Linked DNA regions of Homo sapiens: all the other regions are linked to region 4. The links are contacts of gene promoters, found by promoter capture Hi-C in blood cells and fetal thymus (Javierre and others, 2016). All regions are on one chromosome and are shown on one strand. The core of a region is centred on a gene start or on the middle of the fragment in contact, and the rest is flanking DNA. Distances in the headings are between cores, read along the strand shown. Region 1 overlaps TMEM167B (transmembrane protein 167B). Region 2 overlaps SARS1 (seryl-tRNA synthetase 1). Region 3 has its middle 24 kb from the start of EPS8L3. Region 4 holds the start of CYB561D1 (cytochrome b561 family member D1). Region 5 overlaps ELAPOR1 (endosome-lysosome associated apoptosis and autophagy regulator 1). Region 6 has its middle 23 kb from the start of AHCYL1. Region 7 overlaps LOC124904258 (a long non-coding RNA gene).

Region 1 (3,211 bases), core at 60-2,559, 400 kb before region 4:
CGAAGGGAAAACGTGGCGGGCGGGGCCGGGACTGACGTGGCCGTTCTCCCCGCCCCCTCCCAGCCCGGCCCCCCTTGGCCTCTCGACGCCCCTAACTTCTGTACCCCTATACTCCTCTACGGGTTCCCCCTTCCCATATTCATCTAGGACCCCCAGTGCCTCTTATGCTCACACCTCGAGTTATCTATCCCTATGCTTTGCTTTCCCTTTTCTTTTTCTTAGTTCTTTCTGGCCCTTGGAGAGGTCAGTCCCAGAGGTACTACTGCTATTTAAACCCGGGGAAGAGAGAGGCTCCTCCTCCCAGCTCCCTGCGTTCTCATGCTTTCGGACCGTAGTTTTGTTGAGAGGGCCAATAAATGACATAGAATATCAAGTCCCACACTTTTGGGGTTGCTGGTGAATGTAGACCCCACAAAAGCTTCTTCTTACGGAAAAATACCGGAAAGATTTCTGATTTTAAAGTCCTGGCGGGGTGATCCCACGTGGAGACCCTGACTAGTGTTGCAAAGGGTGGATTTAGACACTGCCTCTTCTAGATGATGAGGCAGTTTATCTGACCTAATTTTCCAGGCCTCTTCAAACACTTTATGAATTCTGAATTCCAGAGGAGGACAGGAAGGAGGGCCTTCATGATTTTTAGTGTCAACCTTACAGGAAAGGAGAAGAGAAAGCCTTTTAGGCATTACGATGATTTGAGGGGCTCCGGAAAGCATTTCTCAAAAGTACTTTGTCCATAGACCTGGCACTGAAGACTCGAATTTAACCTCCTTGTGAATTTTGGCATTGTCTGCAGAAACTTATGAGAGAAAAGGGGTAGCACGTGAAGGTATAGTTCCTCAGAAAACCTTAGTGTATGTATTAATTTGCTGGACCCTTTCTTAGTGACAGCTTAGCTGTGAGACAGTTTTACTGGAGGAAGAGAGGTAGTGTGATCTAGAACTGGCAGACACTGGTTATATATAATATTCATTTGGAGCTTCCTGGGAAGTCAGAGGTCTCAGGATACTAGGCACAGTAAGAAAAGGGAATTTACCCAGAGGAAGACAGAATCTGAACCAGGAAGTAAGACAGCAGTTTGACACGGTAGTTGCTGAATAAATTTTAGTCATTCTTCCCCCATTTTGTGGTCCAATATCTTCTTGTTTTTTGCAATTAGGTGATTCATTGTGCTTCCCTGTACAAGAAATAAGCTTGGTTTATGTATTTAAGAAACAGAGCTAAGAAGTTAAAGCTTTCTATGTTGAAGCCTTAGATACTTTTTCTTTGTTTTAGAAAAATCTGTTATTATTCTGGCAGAAATTCGGTTTGTTAAGAGTATCATCCATAAAGTGTAAGATAATGATAGGAAAATTGTAGTCATGTGGATTCTTACTCTTGCAACTTTCATTAAGCTTAATTTTTTGCCTTAACATATTCTTCACCAACAGTTGCACATCTGACAGTTTTGGCTACATATCTAGCTCTCCTTTATCATATGAGTGATTTATAACAAGAACATGTTAAATTCTCTGTGCTGAGTCTCTAAGGATTCATATGTCTCAATCTATTGCCAACACTAGTCATTCCTGGGATGCTAATTTCTGCCCAGGATTTCTACTTCTTGAAAGGTGAGGGGAAGGACCAGTGACATTTTAGTAAAGGGGATGTAAAAAAAAAAATTTTTTTTTGAGTTGGGGTCTCACTCTGTTGCTCAGGCTACAGTGCAGTGGCATGATCGTAGTTCATTGCAGCCTCGAACTCCTGGGCTCAATTGATCCCCCTTCCTCCTACAAGCAATTTTTGGGAACAGTAAAATAATCGTGTTAGTCCCAGGATCCTGGCTCCCCCTTGTCAAGTGTCAGTACTGCCTGTTGAGGTTATTATTTTGTTATTATGTCACACACTATCTTCCTTAGAGTTCTCAGGCGGGATCACAGGTCCGACGCTAGATCAGTACCTAAGGTTTTCTTTTCTTCTTTATTTAACAGTGTACTCCTTGGATGGGATTCTGGTGTTTGGTTTGCTCTTTGTTTGCACCTGTGCCTACTTCAAGAAAGTACCTCGTCTCAAAACCTGGCTGCTATCAGAGAAGAAGGGTGTTTGGGGTGTGTTTTACAAAGGTGAGGCCATGTCTGGACAGGGAGAAGAGACTGCCATCTCTGGACAGTGTGGAGCTACAAAGTAGGGAGTACAGTGAGCTGGGATTATATTTGGTTTCATTTTTAGAAAAAAATCCCTCCGATTGGGTCTGAGAGTCTGGAAAATTAATCATTCTCCAAAGTTGAGGGAAGAGGTAAAAGTTAAAATTTGCTGGGTGTGATGGCTCATGCCTATAATCTCAGCACTTTGGGGGGCCAAGGCAGGAGGATTGCTTGTGTCCAGGAGTTGTAGATCAGCCCGGGCAACACAGTGAGACCCCATTTCTACAAAATATACAAAAATTAGCCAGGTATGGTGGCACGTGCCTGTAGTCCCAGTTACTCAGGAGACTGAGGTGGGAGGATTGCTTGAGCCTAGGAGGTTGAGGCTGCAGTGAGCCATGGTGGAGCCACTGCACTCCAGCCCAGGTGACAGGGTGAGACCCTGTCTCAAAAAAAAAAAAAATTATTTAAAAACATAATTGTCTATTTTAGCATCCAGATGATTTTTGTATTCTCCATGGAGTAAAAGTATACACATCAAATCATTTTAGGCTGGGGTGGAATTCCTCCCTTCAGTGGGAAAAAAATTTTTCTACGGAAAATTTTTCTTGATTTTCTGTAAATGGTACATTGGAGTCTGTTTTAAGGTTTGAGTTAATTAACTCAGATGCTTTTTTGTACTTTTTATTTGAGGCACATTCATTTGGAATCCTATCTACCTAAATTTTTTTTTGAAAAAGGACAAAATATAAACAAACAGTATATTCACCTAGACCCTAAAGCATAAGGATAGCATTTAGAAACATCTCAGAGGCCGGATGCGGTGGCTCATGCCTGTAATCCCAACACTTTGGGAGGCCGAGGAGGGCAGATCACCCAAGGTCAGGAGTTCGAGACCAGCCTGGCCAACATGGTGAAACCCTGTCTCTACTAAAAATACAAAAATTAGCCAGGGAGCCGGGCACGGTGGCTCACGCCTGTAATTCCAGCACTTTAGGAGGCCAAGGTGGGTGGATCACCTGAGGTCAAGAGTTCAAGACCAGCCTGGCCAAGATGGTGAAACCCCATCTCTACTAAAAATACAAAAATTA
Region 2 (2,813 bases), core at 219-2,718, 270 kb before region 4:
CATGTTATTAACATGTAGCAGTAGTTGGTTCTTTTCATTGCTATATAATACTCCATTATGTAAATATGCCAATCAATTCTACTAGCATATTTACTGCATGACATTTGGATAAACTGGGTTGTTACCGGTTGAGGGCATTATGAATAAGCTTCTAGAGACTCTTTTTTAAAAAATGTTTGATTGGCAATTAACAGATTATAGTTGTATATATTTATAGGGTACAATGTAATGTTATGATTTATGAATACAATGTGGAATAATAAAAGCAGCTAATTAACATATCCATCACCTCAAATACTTATATTTTGTGATAAGAACATATGTACATTCTTATGTGTGTCTTTTGGTAGACATTAACACTCATTTCTGTTGGGTATGTACCAAGGAGTAGAATTGCTGGATCATAGGGTGGGCACATGTTTAGATTTAGTAGATAATACCAAGTAGTTTTCCAAAGTGGTTGTAATGATTGATATTCCCACCAGCAATATCTAAGAGTTCCAGTTGCTTGGCATTCTTGCCAGTACTTGACATTGGCAGTCCTTTTAATTTAGCCATTCTGGTAGATATATAGTGGTGTCTCATTGTTATTTTAATTTGCATTTTTTTGGTGACTAAAGATACTGAGCGCTTTTTCATAAGTTGATGGCATTTGGATAGCCTATTTTGAGAAGTATCTGTTCAAGCCTTTTGACCAATTTTTATTTGTCCTTTTCTTAGTGGTTTGTAGGAATTATTTATATCGTGTGGATAGAAGAATACCTGTGAGATACAGATACCACAGATCTCCTCTCCCATTCTGTGGCTTGCCTTTTCATTCTTTCAGTCTTGTGATGAATAGAAGTTCCTAATTTTAATGAAGTCTAATTTATTGACTTTTCTTCTGTGATTTGTCTATTGTGTTTCCAAAACACAATAGATAAATCACAGAATTTGTATTCTGTTTTGAAAATCATGTTATGTCTTAACCTTCAGAAGAGATTCTCCAGTTTTTTTGTAGACATTTTATTTCTTTACCTTTTACATTTAGGTATAAGATATATTTAATATTAATTTTGGTGTATTATGTGAGATAGATCAAAATTTTTTTTAATGTGGAGAGTCAATTGCTCATGGTAAAAATGCAATAAACTGAGAATAGAAGGGAGCTTCCTTAATCTGATAGTAGATACTTACAGAAAAACCCATAGCTAATTTTTCTTTTCTTCTCTTTTTTTTTTTTTTTCTTGAGACAGAGTCTCATTCTGTTACCAGGCTGGAATGCAGTGGCGTGACCTCAGCTCACTGCAACCTCCACCTCCCAGGTTCAAGCGATTCTCCTGCCTCAGCCTCCTGAGTAGCTGGGACTACAGGTGCGTGCCACCACGCCCAGCTAATTTTTGTATTTTTAGTAGAAACAGGATTTCACCATGTTGGCCAGGATGGTCTCGATCTCTTGATCTCATGATCCGCCCGCCTCGGCCTCCCAAAGTGCTGGTATTACAGGTGTGAGCCACTGCGTCCGGCCACATTTTTCTTAATGATGAAATATCGAATGCTTTCCCCCTTGAGGTTAGGAACAAGACAAGTATGTCTCTTATCACCTCTTCTAATCAACATCATGCCAAAGGTTCCAGGCAGTATGAAGAAGGCAAGAAACAAAAATAAAAGATTGGAATGGAAGAAACTGTCATTATTTGCAGATCACTTGATTGTGTATGCAGAATCTGAACTATTACAATTAAATAACTTTAACAAAATAACTGGATACAATACACAGAATCAAAGGTACTTCTATATACAAGTAACAGTTTAGAAGCACCAGGTGCATAGAGATATACCTAATAAATAACATTTAAGACTCATATACTGAAAACTACAAAACATTGCTGAGAGAAATTAAAAACAATGAAGGGATATACTATATTCATTGATTGAAACATTCAGCATTGTTACAATATTTGGTTTTGTTTTATTTTCTTTTTGTTTCTTTTCTTTTTCTCTTTTGAGATAGAGTCTTGTTCTGTCACCTAGCCTGGAGTGCAGTGGAATGATCTTGGCTCACTGCAGTCTCTGCCTCCCAAGTAGCTGGGAGTACAGGCACACACCACCATGCTCAGCTAATTTTTTTGTGTGTGTGTATATATATATATATATATATATATATATATATATATATATTTTTTTTTTTTTTTTTTTTTTTTTTTTTTTTTTGTAGAGACAGGGTTTTGCCACGTTGCCCAGGCTGGTCTCGAATTCCTGGGCTCAAGCGACCCACCCACTTCAGCCTCCCAAAGTGCTGGAATTACAGGCATGAGCCACCACACCTGGCCTTATTTTCTTTTATACTCCCAATACCTACCTTGGTGCCTTGCAAATAGGAGGGAATCTCAAAACGATTATAGATTTACAGGAAGTTGGAAAAATAGTAGAAAGGTCCCGTTTTCCCCAATGATAACATCTTATATAACTCTAGTACAATATTAAAACCAAGAAATTGACATTGCTACAATCCACAAACCTTATTCAGATTTTGCCAGTTTTGCACACATGTGTGTGTGTAGTTCTGTGCAATCTTACCATGTGTAAATTTGTATAACCACTGCCATGCTCAAGATACAGAACTGTTTCATCACCACAAAGATCCTTCTTGCTATCTCTTTGTAGTCTACTCCCTTTGCCCTCCATCTCACCCCTAGCAACCACTAATCTATTATCCATCTCTATAGTTTTATCAATGTGAATAAGTGAATGAGAAAATAGTGATATCATTTTGCATTGAAGTTTTGTTAAAGAGGTATCAAAGAGGAAAGCTTCTTGGTAAAGCCTTAAAG
Region 3 (3,211 bases), core at 686-3,185, 290 kb after region 4:
ACATGGCTCAGGCCCATCAGGAAAGGTCTGGGTTCCTGATTTGGCGCCCAGGCCCCTGTGTGTGGCCGCTGCCTATGACGGTGGGGGATATGCCCACAGCTTCCAAGTGGGAGTGGGTGGGTTAGAGTTTGCTTCCTGTGGTGGCGTTCTGAGGAAGCCTGTACAGACAGCTAGAGTGGACAGAGGTGGAGAGACTAGTACAGAAGTTATGGAAAAACCTCATTCTTCATTCATTCATTTAACAAATGTTTACTGAGCATGTGCTGTGTGCCAGGCACTGTGCTAAGCAGGTGCTATTAAGGGACACCCAGCCTCTTTCCAACCCACAGATCAAGGTCTGGGCTAATTCTGCCATGCCTTCCCAGGCCTCCTGTCCTTTCTTCCCAGGCTCTGAGGCTACACTTCTTGGTCCCAGGCCAAATCTGCTCTCTGCAGGGCCTCCTGAACTCCAACACAGCCTTTTTTCTGGGTTTTGCGCCCGCTCCAGTCATGCTCTGTCCTCTTCTTCTCTGGCGTTTATTGCTCCTCCCAGCTCTGCCCTCTGCACACCCATCCTTCAGTGCCTGGGTGTGGCAGAAGAGATCTCCTCCCCCCAGCTCTCCTGCTCTTGACATCAGCAGGAAATTCACAGAGCTTTTACTCTGGATCCAAACAAACACTCATGTGTTCGTGCATCTAGCTGAGAGCCCAACCTGGGTCTGGGCTGGCCTGGGAGCCCTGGGGGATACAAAGGTCCTTGTCCTCAAGACACTCCCAGGTGGAGGGGAATAAGCCCTGTCTACCGCCAAGAGCAAGACCACTCAATACCCAACGGATGGTCCCCATGAGCCAATGGCGGCCGTGGAAACATAGAGACCCAGTTCTTCCTGCTGTGTGCTTAACTTTCATGGGCTCATGGGTGCTTCACCACTGCTCATTAAGGCCAGCTCTATTATGGTACTATTTCACATTTGAGGAGACTGAAGCTCAGAAAGTTGACTAAACTGTCTGAGATTGCTTAGCTGTCAGAGGCAGCACGTTGGTTTGACCCTGGGGTGGTTGACTGCAAGCCCGCTTAGTGCATGGCCATTTCAGGAGAAGGATGTGAGAACTGGCAGGGATAGGGGGTGGTCGCTGGGGCACATCCCCAGTGGGCATCTTCCTGGACTTTCTCCAGGATGGGGAGTGATTCCACACAGGCTGACATGGGGTGTGATGGGCCTGGCTGCTGGCATGTGGCTCCCCGGCAGTGCCCCCACCCTTTGCTGGTCTCTCACCCAGCCCTCTCTCTGGTCTCCGGTTCTGTGGCACGTGCCTCTCTTCTCCCAGTTTGTCCCTCCTCCTCCTCCTAGACAAAGGTAGCCTGATACTGTGAGTCAGGATGGATTGGGAGCCAGGGTCATTAACTCACCTGGGCCTGTCAAATGGGCGTAAGCACTGATTATCCTGCAGGGATCTGGTGGAACTCAAACCATTGAAGATTACAGAAGGAAACTGCTATAAATATTTAGAGGCATGAGTCATTCATTCATTCGGCAAGTATTTATTGAGCGCATACTCTGTGGCAGGCCCTGCTCTGAATTTTAGGGATATTGTCCTGAGGAAGACAGCCTTAGCTCCTGCCCGCATGGGGCTTACAGTCTAGAGTGGGGTGGGGGGCAGACATTCAGTAGCCATGCAGATGAACACATAGGTACAAAGCAAACTGTGTTCAACAAGATTGTCAACAGGGTTGGAGAAATGCGTCCACAGCCTTTCCTGAGTAAGTGGGATTTCAGCTGAAGGATGACAAGTCAGCCTGCACAGGGCAGGGCAGGGGCCCCCAGGGCGTGAGTGCAAAGCCCTCGAGTGGCGGACAAGCCAGAGGCTTGCGACAAGGCAGCATGAGCTGGGGCGGCGCGGGGGGAGGCTGGGGGCTGACTGGCCGGACTGGGCATGGCCTTGCAAAAGAGAGCTATTGAAGGATTTAGTTTAAGTGGCTTAACAAAAATAAACCTCTATCTCTTTGACCTGGGTCTCTAGAGCTTCTCCTGCCTCCTTTGCCCTCAGTGTCCATTCTGTGTGATGAGAAGTTGGGCTTGGGGGAGGTCTCAGCCCTCACCCCCTTCTCGGGCAGAAGGGCAGCTGATTGAAAGCAGATGTCTCGCCCTGGTGGGGCCCAGCCCGGCTCCCCAGTGCTGACCTCAGACCTGCACCGCTGGCATGTCCAGGCCGCAGACTCTCTGTCAGCAAAGCCGCATCCGTCCTGCAGAGAGACGATCACTGTGGTTGCCCACACCCCCAACCCAGCAATTTCCCTACCACGGTGAGAAACCTCCCGTATTCTGGGGCTGGGGCCCAGCCTCCTCCTTCCAATTGCCTGGGGGAGGGAGAGACACCAATTAGGTTCTTGGAAAGGAACTAGGTTAGAAGAGGTATCTGTCACCCCTGCCCAGTTCCTCGGCACACCTGCACCAGCACAGCGCCAAAGGAGGCCACCATTATCCTATTCAGCATGTCCTTGGCTCTGGGCTAAGTGCTTTATGTCTTCCCATTTAACCTTCACAAACAGCTCCATGAGGCCCAACCGTTAAGGCAGTGTGTGACTGAGGCTCAGAGAGGACACCTTGTCACACGGCTGGTAGGTGCAGAGCTGGGATCTGAGCCCAGGTCATCAGGTCTGAAGTCTGTGACCCCAGTGGTCCTCTGCAGGGGGCACTGGCTGTTGCTCCTGTGCCTCTCAGACACTCCATGTGCCTGTTGCACCTGAGGAAGCCCAGGTCAGCTCCAGGCTGCTCGTGCCTCCAGGGACCTGCGTCTTGGCATAGGGCAGCAACATGGGCCCAGAGAGTGCTGGTGCGGCCTCTAGGTGGTGGCCTGGGCTCTGGACATTGTCAAGGGCAGTATGCTTGCTGTTGAATCAGTTTGGACCATGCCCAGGGGTCTCTTCGCAGAGGGAGTTACCATTTTAATTTTTGCCTTTGAACACCCCTGGGAACCACCCCCCATGCACCTGCCCTTTTGGGGCTGCTACGTCCATGAGGCCTCTGCTCCCCGGCCCCCACCATGCACCTGGAGGCATTCAGCAGGCTCCACAGGTTTCCCAGAGATGCCTCTGGTGTCCTGCAGCAACCCTAGTGGCCACTTCCCTCACTACCCCTTACTCTCAGGCCACCCTAGAACAGTACTCTCTTTCCTCTGCTCCTACAAGGCTGCTCCCAGCCCATCTGCAGACCTATCTGCCTCACCCCTG
Region 4 (2,805 bases), core at 289-2,788:
CCCTTTCTCTCGCCTCTTGTCTTCCTGCAGTCAAAAGCCCATTAACGAGAAAGTGCCTGCCCACTGCAACGGAGCCGCCAGCACCTCCTCCCCTCCAGATCCGGGCCCCAGGCTGCTGCCGCTTTTTATAACTTTATATTATTTTTTTTTAAGAAAAAAAGCTCTTTAAAATACCTCAAGACTGTCTCCCTGTTCTGTTGCTGCTATGAAAATATAAAAACAGAAACATAGAAAAGGAAGGAAAAAAAATAACAAAATGAGTGTCCTTACTGTCCCCAGCCCTACCCTGGGAGGCTGAGATGATAGGCAGCCAGACTCCAGCTCCCATAGCTTGCCTGCAAAAGTCTCTTATGCTCATTATTATTATTATTGTCATCTTGTCATTTTCAATAGTGTGAAAAATGTTTGTGTCACTGGGGTAGTCTTTCCAGACAGGATGATGAGGCGTGTGGCTCTGAATGAGTAAGGCTTCCTGAGTCTTGACACCAGAGACGACTATGGTCCCATTGGGAAGAGAAACTCGAGAGGGGGAGCTGCACTTCTGGCTCTTTCTAGGATCCTTGCCCCGAGGGTCTGGGAATTGGCTTGTGACCCTTTTCTGGTCCTTCAGCAACCCTAGGCATCCATCCCTCCCTGAATTATTGCCTGCTTTTCTTCAGCTGTTCCTGCAGCCTCATTTTCTCAGCCACTTAGGGAGCTTGAGCTGGGTTGGTCATTGCTGTTGGGATATTCCTGTTTTCTATTGGACAGCCTTCCTTCCCTGCCTGTGGGTTTGCCTTTAAGGAAGGGGTAGAACCTTTCCCAGGGAGGCCTCCTTGGGTTGAACCACCCCTTTTTTGGAGGCAGGAAGGGAAAAGGCATCATCACTTGCAGAACTGGTGGTGTGGGAGGCCACAGGAGTGTGGGAGGCCTTGGTCCTTCAGGATCACCTGGCTCCTCAGGGCTGAGCAGCTGCTGAGGAGGCGGCAGGGCTGGGAGTGCCCTAGTTTTTCCATTTATCTCGCTGGGGACCACTCCCGTGCAGATGCGAGAGGAGACTTGCATTTCCCTCCTTTGGTCCACCAGGTTCAAGGCACTATATTTTGGCGATGTCCTTTCCTATTCTCCTTGCTCTTAGGCATGGAGGAAGCTTGTTCCCTGAACAAGACAAAATGAGGTGACAGGAGACAGTGCACAGCCAGGGAAATCCAGTACTACTAGAAATCGGCTCCAAACACTTGTTTCACAGTCTTGGTTCAGCGTACCAAGTGTGTGATTTGGGGTTTCACTGAAATCGTTTGCCACAAAAGTAATTTCCACAGGCTGCTTGGGATTTAGGCCCTTGTAGACAGACACACAGATACAAATGAAGGTGGGCTGGGAACTGTTCGGTCCCCTTCTGCCTCCGGGCTCTCGCGGGAGCGGGCCTCTCCGGGGCACTCGCGTTTCCCCCCCAGCCCCCAGAGGGCGCTGTGGGCCACTCCGCCGCACTGCCGGCGGCGTCCCCGGGGAGGAGCCTCTCCTGCAGCCGCCACCGCCTCCGCGATCGCAAACCCGGAAGACGTGTTCGGGCAGCTGGAGTGTACGGGCCCGCGGGCCACGGCCATGCAGCCCCTGGAGGTAGGTCTGGTTCCCGCTCCAGCTGGGGAGCCGAGACTGACCCGCTGGCTGCGGAGAGGCAGTGGGATCTTGGCGCACCTGGTAGCTTTGGGCTTCACCATCTTTCTGACAGCGCTGTCCCGGCCAGGAACCAGTGAGTGTGCGGGGCGGGGTTGCGGAAGGGGGCGGAGTGGAGATGCTGGAGGGGCAGCGCTTGGGAGCCCCGGGAGACTTGGAGGAGGGACCCCAGCAGTAAAGGGGAGACAGAAACAGTGGAGGGATTTTGAGGGCCTGGTGGGGCGGGGCCCCAGGGATCCTGGAATAATGGGGTTTTGGGTGCTGTGGGGGAAGGGCAGACGATTGAACAGACCGAACTACTTCCTCAGAAACAGGTCCCCTGATGGAGGATAGAAGTGAAGGAGGCCGGGCGCGGTGGGTCATGCCTGAAATCCCAGCACTTTGGGAGGCCGACGCGGGTGGATCACTTGAGGTCAGGAGTTCGAGACCAGCCTGGCCAACATGGTGAAACCCCGTCTCTACTAAGAATACAAAAATTAGCCAGGCGTGATGGCGCGCGCCTGTAGTTCCAGCTACTTGGGAGGCTGAGGGAGGAGAATCGCTTGAACCCGGGAGGTGGAGGCTGCAGTGAGCCGAGATTGCACCACTGCACTCCACCCTGTGCGACAGAGCGAGACTCCGTATCAAAAAAAAAACAAAAAACAACAACCAAAAAAAACAAAAAACAAAAAAGGGGCAGAGGACTGGGCTGCCAGCTGAGAGGTGCTGAACGGGGAACCCGGGCCAAACTGTTGTATGTGTGTGGATAAGGAGGCCCTCTTGGTTGCTCACCCTGGGGCTCCTTGGCTGCTCCACTTTGTCCTTAGTTCCTGTGCCCGATTAGGATTGGGGATGGTACTTTTCTCCTGTGGCTAGATTCTTTGGGTTCCACCTAGCTACAGGGGCAGGAACAATGGTACCAAGCCCTCAGCCTGTTCTCTTTGATTCTTAGGTCTTTTCTCCTGGCACCCTGTATTCATGGCCTTGGCGGTGAGTTTAGGCTTCTATCTGATTTGTTTGGGTATTCCTCACCTCATTCTCCCAGGGAAGCACCCAGCTTTCAGAAAGCTCAGCCTTTCTAAGGCTAAGACAGGTGGAGGAAACATCTAGGGCTCATCTTTCCCTGCAGCCTATGGGATTGGGAAACCTGGAGGGCTGGGCCATAGGCAG
Region 5 (2,769 bases), core at 206-2,705, 300 kb before region 4:
CCTGTTTAGAAATGCTTATGATGTACTGCCACACGATAGATCCTTAGTTCAAAGACAAAAGAACTCTATTTTATTGTAATGTAAAGGTTTTCTTCAGTTTTCAAGCTCATCTACTTCCTACAATCTAGAAAAAAAAAAAAAGGCTGAGACACCAGATTTAGCACTTTTTTTTTTTTTGAGGTGGAGTCTCACTCTTTTGCCAGGCTAGAGTGCAGTGGCACGATCTCTGCTCACTGCAACCTCCGCCTCCCAGGTTGAAGCGATTCTCCTGCCTCAGCCTCCCGAGTAGCTGGGACTACAGGCATGCGCCAGCACGTCCAGCTAATTTTTGTGTTTTTAGTAAAGACGGGGTTTCACCACGTTGGCCAGGATGGTCTCAATCTCTTGACCTCATGATCCACCTGCCTCGGCCTTCCGAAGTGCTGGGATTACAGGTGTGAGTCACTGCACCCAGCCAGCACCATTTATAATAAAATTTATAACATTGAAAATGTTGACTGGGCACAGTGGCTCACCCCTGTAATCCCAACACTCTGGGAGACTGAGGCAGGAAGATTGCTTGAGCCCAGGAGTTCAAGACCAGCCTGAACAACACAGAGAGGCCCTATCTTTACGAAAAAAAAAAAAAAAAATTAACCTGCGGTTCCAGCTACTTAGGAGGCTGAGGCAGGAGGATCACTTGAGCCCAGGAGTTCAAGGCTTTAGTGAGCTATGATTGCACCATTGCACTCCAGCCCGGGCAATAGATCAAGACTCTGTCTCAAAAAGACAAAACAAAACAAAAAAATCAAATCTGTCTCGTCATTAGACCTGGGATGAATCATTCCCCTACAACATACCATTGAAACGCTGAAAATTTAGATGTAAAAAAGCCTTCCCTATTCCCTTCTGGGAATTCCTCTGTGACCACTCACTTCTTCCTACTTCTTCCTCCCCACTCCCCAACCAGGGTAGGAAAATGTCTGTGTGCACCGACAATGTCACTGACCTCCGGATTCCTGAGGGTGAGTCAGGGTTCTCCAAATCTATCACAGCCTACGTCTGCCAGGCAGTCATCATCCCCCCAGAGGTGACAGGCTACAAGGCCGGGGTTTCCTCACAGCCTGTCAGCCTTGCTGATCGACTTATTGGTGAGTAACTCCGCTGCCTCAGCCTTGTTTGAGAGTGTGTGTGTGTGTGTGTGTGTGTGTATGTGTAAGAGAGTGTGAGGTTACCAGTCTGGGAGGTAAAAGGCCCCACATGAGGGGCCCAACCTCTTGACCTGTGTTTTCTATTCCACTCTGTGTGCAAAGTGCTCCCAGGGACTCTGACAAACCCTTGTTTCACCCTTTCATAAGCCACTCAGGGATGTGATGAGATGAAGTGAGGTTGGATGTTGACAGGTATTGGAAGAATTGAAGTGGTTGCCAGCTAATGCTACTAGTGAGAACTAATTAGGAGCTCTAATTTGGCAGGGGTGACAACAGATATGACTCTGGATGGAATCACCTCCCCAGCTGAACTTTTCCACCTGGAGTCCTTGGGAATACCGGACGTGATCTTCTTTTATAGGTGAAGATGAGAGGCTAGGCTAATGCAAGTGAAACCTAGGACTCCTCCATAATTTCTGCTGCATCCCTCCCTCTCTAGCCACCTACTGCTTATCAAGCCAGAACATGTCTGAGGTCTAGCAGATCTGCCCAGTCATGATAGCTAAGGGCTGGGAGTTCCTGATCCCAGCTTCCTGGATATTACTGGAGCAGATCTGCCCTAGAGGCAAGGAGAAATATTGGATGATCTGCAGTGGACTTCCCTTCCAGCCTAAGCAGGCTCCAGTGTATGCTAGCCATGACTTTCCTAAACCAGGGCATTTCCCCCTTGACTACATATTGTTGATCCCCACCCTTTCCACGTATAAACCAAGGCCTGTGCACTCCCTGTGTGCCAGGCTAAAGCCCAAGTCCTGACTTCCCCAGCAAGGGAATTGCTCCATGCGGATTTCTCTTGGTGGCTGTCCAATAACACAGCTGAGTGACTCATTCCCTCATGGGGGCTGGCTTTCTCTGCAGGTCCAATGATGTGACCCAGTCCTGCAGTTCTGGGAGATCAACCACCATCCGCGTCAGGTGCAGTCCACAGAAAACTGTCCCTGGAAGTTTGCTGCTGCCAGGGTAAGCCCTGCAAAGGGATGTAACAAAGGCCAAAATCTCCCTTGAAGTCATTCCATCCTGAGATCCAGAGATTACTGAAAAAGAGCAAAAAAGAAAAGAGTTTGAGATCCATTAATGGGTGCTTAGGGGCACAGTCATGGCCCCAGACCCTCAGTCTTCATATGGCAAGAATGGGGTAGAAGGAAGAGTGAAAGCTATTCTCATATTCCTGGTCCATTAAGGCAGCAGCTGCGTAGCATGGTAACCAACAGCTCGGCTGAGAGCCAGGTTGAATCATCTCCTCCACTAACCAGCTATGTTATCATGGATGCATTTCTTACCTTCTTTAGGCCTCTTTTTTCCATATCTGTAAAAATGGGCATAATGCTAAATTCCCTCAGCGGGTTGTTTTGAGGATTAAATGAGACAAGGAGACTTTAGGACGTTTCATGATCTCTGGCTATTATGAGGATTAGTAAAGGTTTAGGGATCCTAGGAATCTCTCTGCAACGAAAATACCCAGTTCTGAGGTTAATAGCTGAGTGAACTAAATCAAAAATTTCTAAATGAATATGACCACAGGACACCCCCTCCCCTCCCCGCATAACAGCAGCTAACATCTTGACGGGCACTAGCGTCT
Region 6 (3,209 bases), core at 600-3,099, 470 kb after region 4:
ATGCCTCCCCTACGAAAAGTCCTGCTGGTAATAAACATAATCTGCCCTGTGTGTTCCCACCACAGGGGGGACATATAGCATGAATAAGAACTGGCTTCCCTTAGAGAGCTTTTCCAAAGGACACCATCTATTTACTCAGCAAATATTTACTGAGCAAAATGGGAGGAGAAGGGCATTCTGGGGAGAGAGAAGAGTTTGAACAAAGCTAAAAAGGAGGGAAAACCAGGAGTATGTATGGGATACACTGAATAGTCAAATTCAGGTGATAAAATCTGAAAGGTAGGAGGGAACTGATAAGTAGAGCTTTGAATGCGTGGCAAGGAGTTTGGACTTACTGAAACAGGCAAAAGGGAGCCAAAGAAGATTTTGAGCAAGTGATAAACATAATAAAAAATGCTTATTAGGCAAGTTAATATGCCAGCAGTTCCTAAATTGGACTGGGTTGAAGAATAACAATATAAAGCAGCCAGCAATGATTGAGTAGTTACTATGTACCCAGCACCATGCCAAACTCTTTGCATACATTTTCTCATTTAATGAAAGTAATAATTAATGCATTTAAGACTCAGTGTCTGGCCCATAATGTATTCCAACCCTCACAATCATCCTGTAAATTGAGTATTATTACCTCAGTTTTATAGGTGATGTCTATATTGGTCTGTTTGCTATTGCTTATAACAGAATACCTGAAACTGACTAACTTCTAAAGAAGTTTATTTCTTACAGTGATGGAGGCTAAGAAGTCCCAGGCTGAGGGGCTGCATCTGGCGAGTCTTCTTGCTGGTAGGGAGTCCCCAGGTAGTTCGGGGCACCCCATGGTGAGAGGCTGAGCAAGCTAATTAACTAATTAATTAACCATTTAATCCATTAATCCATGAATGAATTAATACACAAATGAGGGCACTGTTCACATCAAATGTTTGAGAGTTTTTTTTGTTTTTTTTTTTTCTTTTTTCTGTGTCTAAAGGGTTTTTATTTAAGAGCCTGTAGTGCTGAGTTCCACCAAGGATTTGGAAGGTCACTCTCAGCAGCAGCCACTTCTGCCAGGACCAGTGGTGAGCACCTGGCAGGGCCTTGCTGTTTCCACATAAGGCAAAGGAATCCAGCTTTTCTGTAGGATTTTTGCTGCAGCTGTTCAAAACCTTGTGTGAGCCAGCAGTTCCAGTTCAAAGGTTAAGAGGGCGCATAGCACCTAGGTGGCCAGGTTCCTGTAAGTCACCACTCAGGCCATAAGTCACCACGGAGGGGAGAGACAAAGCAGCCACAGCTGTTCTGTTTCCAGTCCCACCCCTCTGGCAAACAGATGGGGGGAAATGGAGAAGAAAAGTTCACAAAGTCGGTGAAATGGCCAGGCACGGTGGCTCACACCTGTAATCCCAGCACTTTGGGAGGCCAAGGCAGGTGGATCACCGGAGGTCAGGAGTTTGAGACCAGCCTGGCCAACATGATGAAACCCCATCTCTACTAAAAATACAAAAATCAGCTAGGCATAGTGGCAGCCTCCTGTAATCCCAGCCACTCGGGAGGCTGAGACAGGAGAATCGCTTGAACCCAGAGGTGGAGGTTGCAGTGAGCCAAGATCACGCCACTGCACTCCAGCCTGGGCGACAGAGTAAGACCCCACCGAAAAAAAAAAAAAGTAGGTGAAATGAAGAGGGCAGAGGAGCTGCAGGCAACTACTTGCAGGCCCCACCACACACCTGACAGTTCTGCCTTCAAGATCCAATCACCTCTTAAAGGCCCTACCTCTCAATACTGCCACAGTGGGGGTTAAATTTCAACACGAGTTTTGGAGGGGACCAATACTGAAACTATAGCACTGCCCAAGGTTCAAAGAGGTTAAGTATTTTATACCAAAGATCAAAGAGCTATACGTGGCAGAGCTAGGATTTAATCTCAGGTTGATCTGCCACCAAAGTTGACTCTTAAGACAGGGAAGTATTAGGAAGCAATTTCAAAAGTCCTGACAAGTGGTGATGGACTAGGGGAGGGCAGGGGGAAAAAGACAGGAAAACGGATGTACAACTAAGTTACAATTGCATAGCACACATGACATGGTAATTGAGAAATCTTTAGATAGAGAGAATGGTCAAAGATGACCCAAAGTTTCAAACATGAATGACCAACAGAAAGGTGGCACCAGACTGAAAATCCAGAACCTAAGAGGCAAAGTCAATTAAAGGGATTCTGAATATATTGAATTTGATGCGTTGATGATAACCATGTGGAGATAACTTGCTAACATTTGGAAAAATTTTATTATTCCTTATACTCTGTTCCTCATTTATAACTCCTCATTCTTTTATTTAAAAAATTTTAAGAACAACTGAAAAATCAACAGCTCTTCTTAGATCCTTCAGAGAAGTGAGGTCACGGGACAAATCACTGCCTCTAAAATTAGAGAGACAGATACAGAGAATTACAACTTAACCAAGGCAGAAACCCATGAGCAGAAACTTCTGTGGGAACCAGTATTAGGGTAGAACAACTTAAACTGTAATTGATAAATTGCTAGAGGCTCCATTGTGGACAAGTCTGAGAAATAAAAACTCCAGGGGGTCCCAGTCAGAGGGAGGCCTCACAAGTTTTTTGTGAGGTTTAGCTCCATGAGCTCTACCAGGTTCTCACAGAGAGTACTAGAGAAAAATCCCTTTATACTTCTAGGGAAAAGTAACCATTTTGAAATATGCCAGAGCATTCTGTTCTTCTGGACAAGGTCTGCCTTCAAGGGAAACGATTTTACCAGAGCCTAACCTAATGGGGTTTTATCAGCGCCTAAAACCAACTGGGGGGAAGAGAAATACCCAACTCCAGCCCACTGCAGCCATCGTGTCCCACATTGCAAGTTGAGGTGGATATTGAGAAGCACTGTGAAGTTTACAGCCCAGGGGCACAGGCTTACTAAAAAACTGAGACCTCATTATATAGAATGCTTATCCTCTCCCTACGTCTTAACTCCACACCACTAAGGACTGTTTGCCAGAGTTCCTTTTACCCAGTACATTGTATCTGGTGTGCAACAAAAAAAAGTGTAAGACATACTGAAAGTCAAAAAACATAGTTTAAAAAGACAGAGCAAGCATTATAACCAAGCTCAGGTATAGCAGGGATGTTGGAATTATCAGACCAGGATTTTAAAACAACTATGATTAATATATTAAGGCCTGTAATGGAAATAGTAGACGACATACAAGAACAAATGGGTAAGC
Region 7 (2,823 bases), core at 12-2,511, 270 kb after region 4:
ACTTCCTGCACTCCATGGTATCGAAAAATCTTTCTTGGCACTCAGAGTGGGCCAGGCTCCCCTGCCCTCTGGGAACTCACAGTCTAACCAACAAGGCCAGGTATAAACAGAAACCAGGGAGCAGGGCAGGAGGGGAGGCGGGGGCGGGGGAGTGCCAGTGAGCCTCGGACCCTCGTGGGCAGAATGCAGGGTCCCGGTGCTGGGCCCTGTGATGGAGTGTCCTGTGGAGTCTGAGGGCTGGAGCACTCCCATCTTTAGCTTCCCTGGAACTATCCCAGGATATCTCAGCCTTCTCTCCCATCACCACCCAACCAACGCTGCCCTGGATGGCCTGGAGTCCATGCGTCAGATCCTAGGGAGGTGCCTTCCCTGTCTGGGCTGTGTGTGTCCCTGGGAGAGTCCAGTGGACAGCCAGCTGCTGGGGCCCAGGGATCAGGTGCCTGTGAGGCCAGCACCCAGCCACAGCCCCATGGGAAGCAGTCCTGGGGTTCTTTCCCCTGGGTCCCCATCTTGTGGCCCTTCAGCTTCTTTTGGGATAGCACAGCCTGTCCCCTCGTTGCCTCCCCCAACTCCGTGAAGGCCACAGTCATATTTCACCCCAGCCCTGGCTTGGGGCTCAGGCAACACCTCATTTCTGCCCAGCTCAGGCCAGGCCCGTCCTTCCCATAGGACCCTCCCCAAGTCAGTGTGAGCACAGCAGGGACTCCTGGGGGGGCTCTGGGGCAAGGTGGGCAGGGGCAGAGAAACAATGAGTGGCATTCCCAGCACCTTGCCCTCTGCAGTGCCCTTTAGGGGTGCCCCTGGGAGCAGTGTGTGTCTCCTCAGACATAAAGCCTTTGTGGCCTTGGTGGGTCTGGGGCTTGGGGCCAGGTATTGGGGACATCTGCTTCTGTGGAGCCCCCTGAGGGAAGAGGGAAATCAGGAAAGAGGGAGAGGCCAAGCTTCCCATACCTGGGGACTTGGGGCCATAACTGAAGCTTCTGCACAAAGCTCCGGGTGCCACAGCAGCTCTTCTGCAAGGGAGTTCGGCTGAGGCACCAGGAGCTGGGACTTAGGTTGGAGGGGAAGGAAGCAGGACTCGAAGGGCATGTCCTTGAAATTGTGGGGTTAAAAGGCTGTGGGACCACATTCGTTCATTCATTCCACAACTTCCTGTAGAATTGAGGGCTTCCTGCCTGCTAGGCACTGTGAGAGGTGCTAGGATCCCTCTGGAGGGCTTACAGACACCTTGGAATTCAAGCTGAGTTCATTATTTCTCAGCAAACCATCTCCCCTCTCATGCTCCCATCTCAGGGAAGGCATCAGCTCCCAATCGTGTGTTCCAGCAGGGAGGGGAGTCCTCCCTCAATCCTCACACCCAATGGACTACCCTTCCTGCAGTCCCAGCTCTGTGGCAAGTCCTAAGTGGCCCCCTTCCTCTCCACCCCACTGCGACTGTCTTCCTCAGACCCCATTACACCTCCTGTCTTCGACCCTGCGGCCGTCTCCTCACCCACGCCCTCGCTTCACTCTTGTTCTCATTGATCCTTACTGGTTGCTGGTAGGGAAGCTTTCTTAGCTGGAGATTTGATTGTCCACTCCTCTGCCTAAAACCCCTCAGTGACTTCCCGCTGCTCACGGGACAAAACCTAAACTCCTTCTCAGGGCAGTTGAAGTCCTTGATGAACTCAAGTCTCCTGCTTCTGAGTCTGGCCTTATCTTCCCCCCAACTCCCTGCCCCTTGTACTTTATACTCGGCTTGGGGCATGGCTTGTAATTCCTTGAAGGGTCACACCCTGGTACCAGGCTGGCTGCTGTTCTCTGTCTGGCATGCCCTGTGGACACGCTATGGCTTTATGTCTCCAGTAGCCCTCCTTCAGAAGCCTTCCCACTGCCCAGGGCTGGTGGGGCTCTGGCCCGTGGCTTCCAGACACGTTGTACATGTGTCCCTCTGTTACTGCATGTATCACATTGAGGGGGATACCCCCATGACTGGGGTCCCTGTGGGGAAAAGAAAGAGAGATCAGACTGTTACTGTGTCTATGCAGAAAAGGAAGACAAAAGAAACTCCATTTTGATCTGTACAAAGAAAAATTGTTCTGCTTTGAGATGCTGTTAATCTGTAACTTTAGCCCCCAACCCTGTGCTCACAGAAACATGTGCTATATTGAATCAAGGTTTAAGGGATCTAGGGCTGTGCAGGATGTGCCTTGTTAACAATATGTTTGCAGACAGTATGCTTGGTAAAAGTCATCGCCATTCTCCATTCTCTGTTAACCAGGGACACGATGCTCTGTGGAAAGCCGCAGGGACCTCTGCCCAAGAGAGCGTGGGTATAGTCCAAGGCTTCCCCCCACTGAGACAGCCTGAGATATGGCCTCATGGGAAGGGAAAGACCTGACCATCCCTCAGCCCGACGCCCGTAAAGGGTCTGTGCTGAGGAGGATTAGTAAAAGAGGAAGGCCTCTTTGCAGTTGAGATGAGGAAGGCCTCTGTTTCCCGCATGTCCCTGGGAACAGAATGTCTCGGTGTAAAGCCGACTGTTCGTTCTATTCTGAGATAGGAGAAAACCGCCCTGTGGCTGGAGGCGAGATATGCTGGCAGCAATACTGCTCTGTTACTCTTTGCTACGCTGAGATATTTGGGCAAAGAGAAACATAAATCTAGCCTACGTGCACATCCGGGCACAGTACCCTCCCTTGAACTTATTTATGAACAGATTCTTTTACTCACATGTTTTCCTGCTGACCTTCTCCCCATCATCATCCTGTTCACCCTGTTCTCCTGCCACACTCCCTTTGCCGAGATAATGAAAATAGTAATCAATACATACTGAGGAAACTC

The links. Contacts are between HindIII fragments. The CHiCAGO score rates a contact against its expected background, and 5 or more counts as called.
Region 1: a fragment that was not itself captured here is called in contact with the fragment with the promoter of CYB561D1 in region 4 in 2 of 17 cell types (naive CD4 T cells and fetal thymus); the score reaches 5.3 in naive CD4 T cells.
Region 2: a contact is called between a fragment that was not itself captured here and the fragment with the promoter of CYB561D1 in region 4, in 2 of 17 cell types (total CD8 T cells and naive CD4 T cells). The highest score is 7.6, in total CD8 T cells.
Region 3: a fragment that was not itself captured here is called in contact with the fragment with the promoter of CYB561D1 in region 4 in 4 of 17 cell types (non-activated CD4 T cells, M1 macrophages, megakaryocytes and 1 more); the score reaches 6.3 in non-activated CD4 T cells.
Region 5: a fragment that was not itself captured here is called in contact with the fragment with the promoter of CYB561D1 in region 4 in 5 of 17 cell types (M2 macrophages, M1 macrophages, megakaryocytes and 2 more); the score reaches 11.2 in M2 macrophages.
Region 6: a contact is called between a fragment that was not itself captured here and the fragment with the promoter of CYB561D1 in region 4, in 1 of 17 cell types (M2 macrophages). The highest score is 5.5, in M2 macrophages.
Region 7: a fragment that was not itself captured here is called in contact with the fragment with the promoter of CYB561D1 in region 4 in 8 of 17 cell types (megakaryocytes, endothelial precursors, M2 macrophages and 5 more); the score reaches 8.8 in megakaryocytes.

What each region holds. Positions count from the first base shown.
Region 1 is chr1:109,090,923-109,094,133 of GRCh38, forward strand. TMEM167B (transmembrane protein 167B) reads left to right here. Exons shown (of 3, transcript NM_020141.4): 2 at 1,968-2,099. It also overlaps the pseudogene NDUFB3P1. Among named protein-coding and RNA genes, the nearest start is that of TMEM167B, 1.8 kb to the left of the region's middle. The HindIII fragment of the contact is 160 bases long and covers 1,230-1,389 here.
Region 2 is chr1:109,219,852-109,222,664 of GRCh38, forward strand. The region is part of intron 1 of SARS1 (seryl-tRNA synthetase 1); the gene reads left to right. Among named protein-coding and RNA genes, the nearest start is that of SARS1, 7.3 kb to the left of the region's middle. The HindIII fragment of the contact is 2,644 bases long and covers 147-2,790 here.
Region 3 is chr1:109,786,186-109,789,396 of GRCh38, forward strand. No RefSeq gene overlaps it. Among named protein-coding and RNA genes, the nearest start is that of EPS8L3, 24 kb to the left of the region's middle. RefSeq lists enhancers at 662-1,545, 1,546-2,429. The HindIII fragment of the contact is 4,535 bases long and covers 1-3,211 here.
Region 4 is chr1:109,492,556-109,495,360 of GRCh38, forward strand. It overlaps CYB561D1 (cytochrome b561 family member D1), which reads left to right and starts at 1,539. Exons shown (of 3, transcript NM_182580.3): 1 at 1,539-1,732; 2 at 2,588-2,625. The coding sequence starts at 1,585. ATXN7L2 (ataxin 7 like 2) reads left to right here. Exons shown (of 11, transcript NM_001350175.2): 11 at 31-179. The coding sequence ends at 45. RefSeq lists a silencer at 1,310-1,539 and enhancers at 1,610-1,689, 1,679-2,179. The HindIII fragment of the contact is 3,360 bases long and covers 1,128-2,805 here.
Region 5 is chr1:109,196,525-109,199,293 of GRCh38, forward strand. It overlaps ELAPOR1 (endosome-lysosome associated apoptosis and autophagy regulator 1), which reads left to right. Exons shown (of 22, transcript NM_020775.5): 16 at 950-1,130; 17 at 1,455-1,551; 18 at 2,049-2,150. Among named protein-coding and RNA genes, the nearest start is that of SARS1, 16 kb to the right of the region's middle. RefSeq lists an enhancer at 813-2,012. The HindIII fragment of the contact is 6,896 bases long and covers 1-2,769 here.
Region 6 is chr1:109,960,498-109,963,706 of GRCh38, forward strand. No RefSeq gene overlaps it. Among named protein-coding and RNA genes, the nearest start is that of AHCYL1, 23 kb to the right of the region's middle. RefSeq lists an enhancer at 1-463. The HindIII fragment of the contact is 7,765 bases long and covers 1-3,209 here.
Region 7 is chr1:109,764,635-109,767,457 of GRCh38, forward strand. The region is part of intron 1 of LOC124904258 (a long non-coding RNA gene); the gene reads left to right. Among named protein-coding and RNA genes, the nearest start is that of EPS8L3, 2.1 kb to the left of the region's middle. The HindIII fragment of the contact is 572 bases long and covers 976-1,547 here.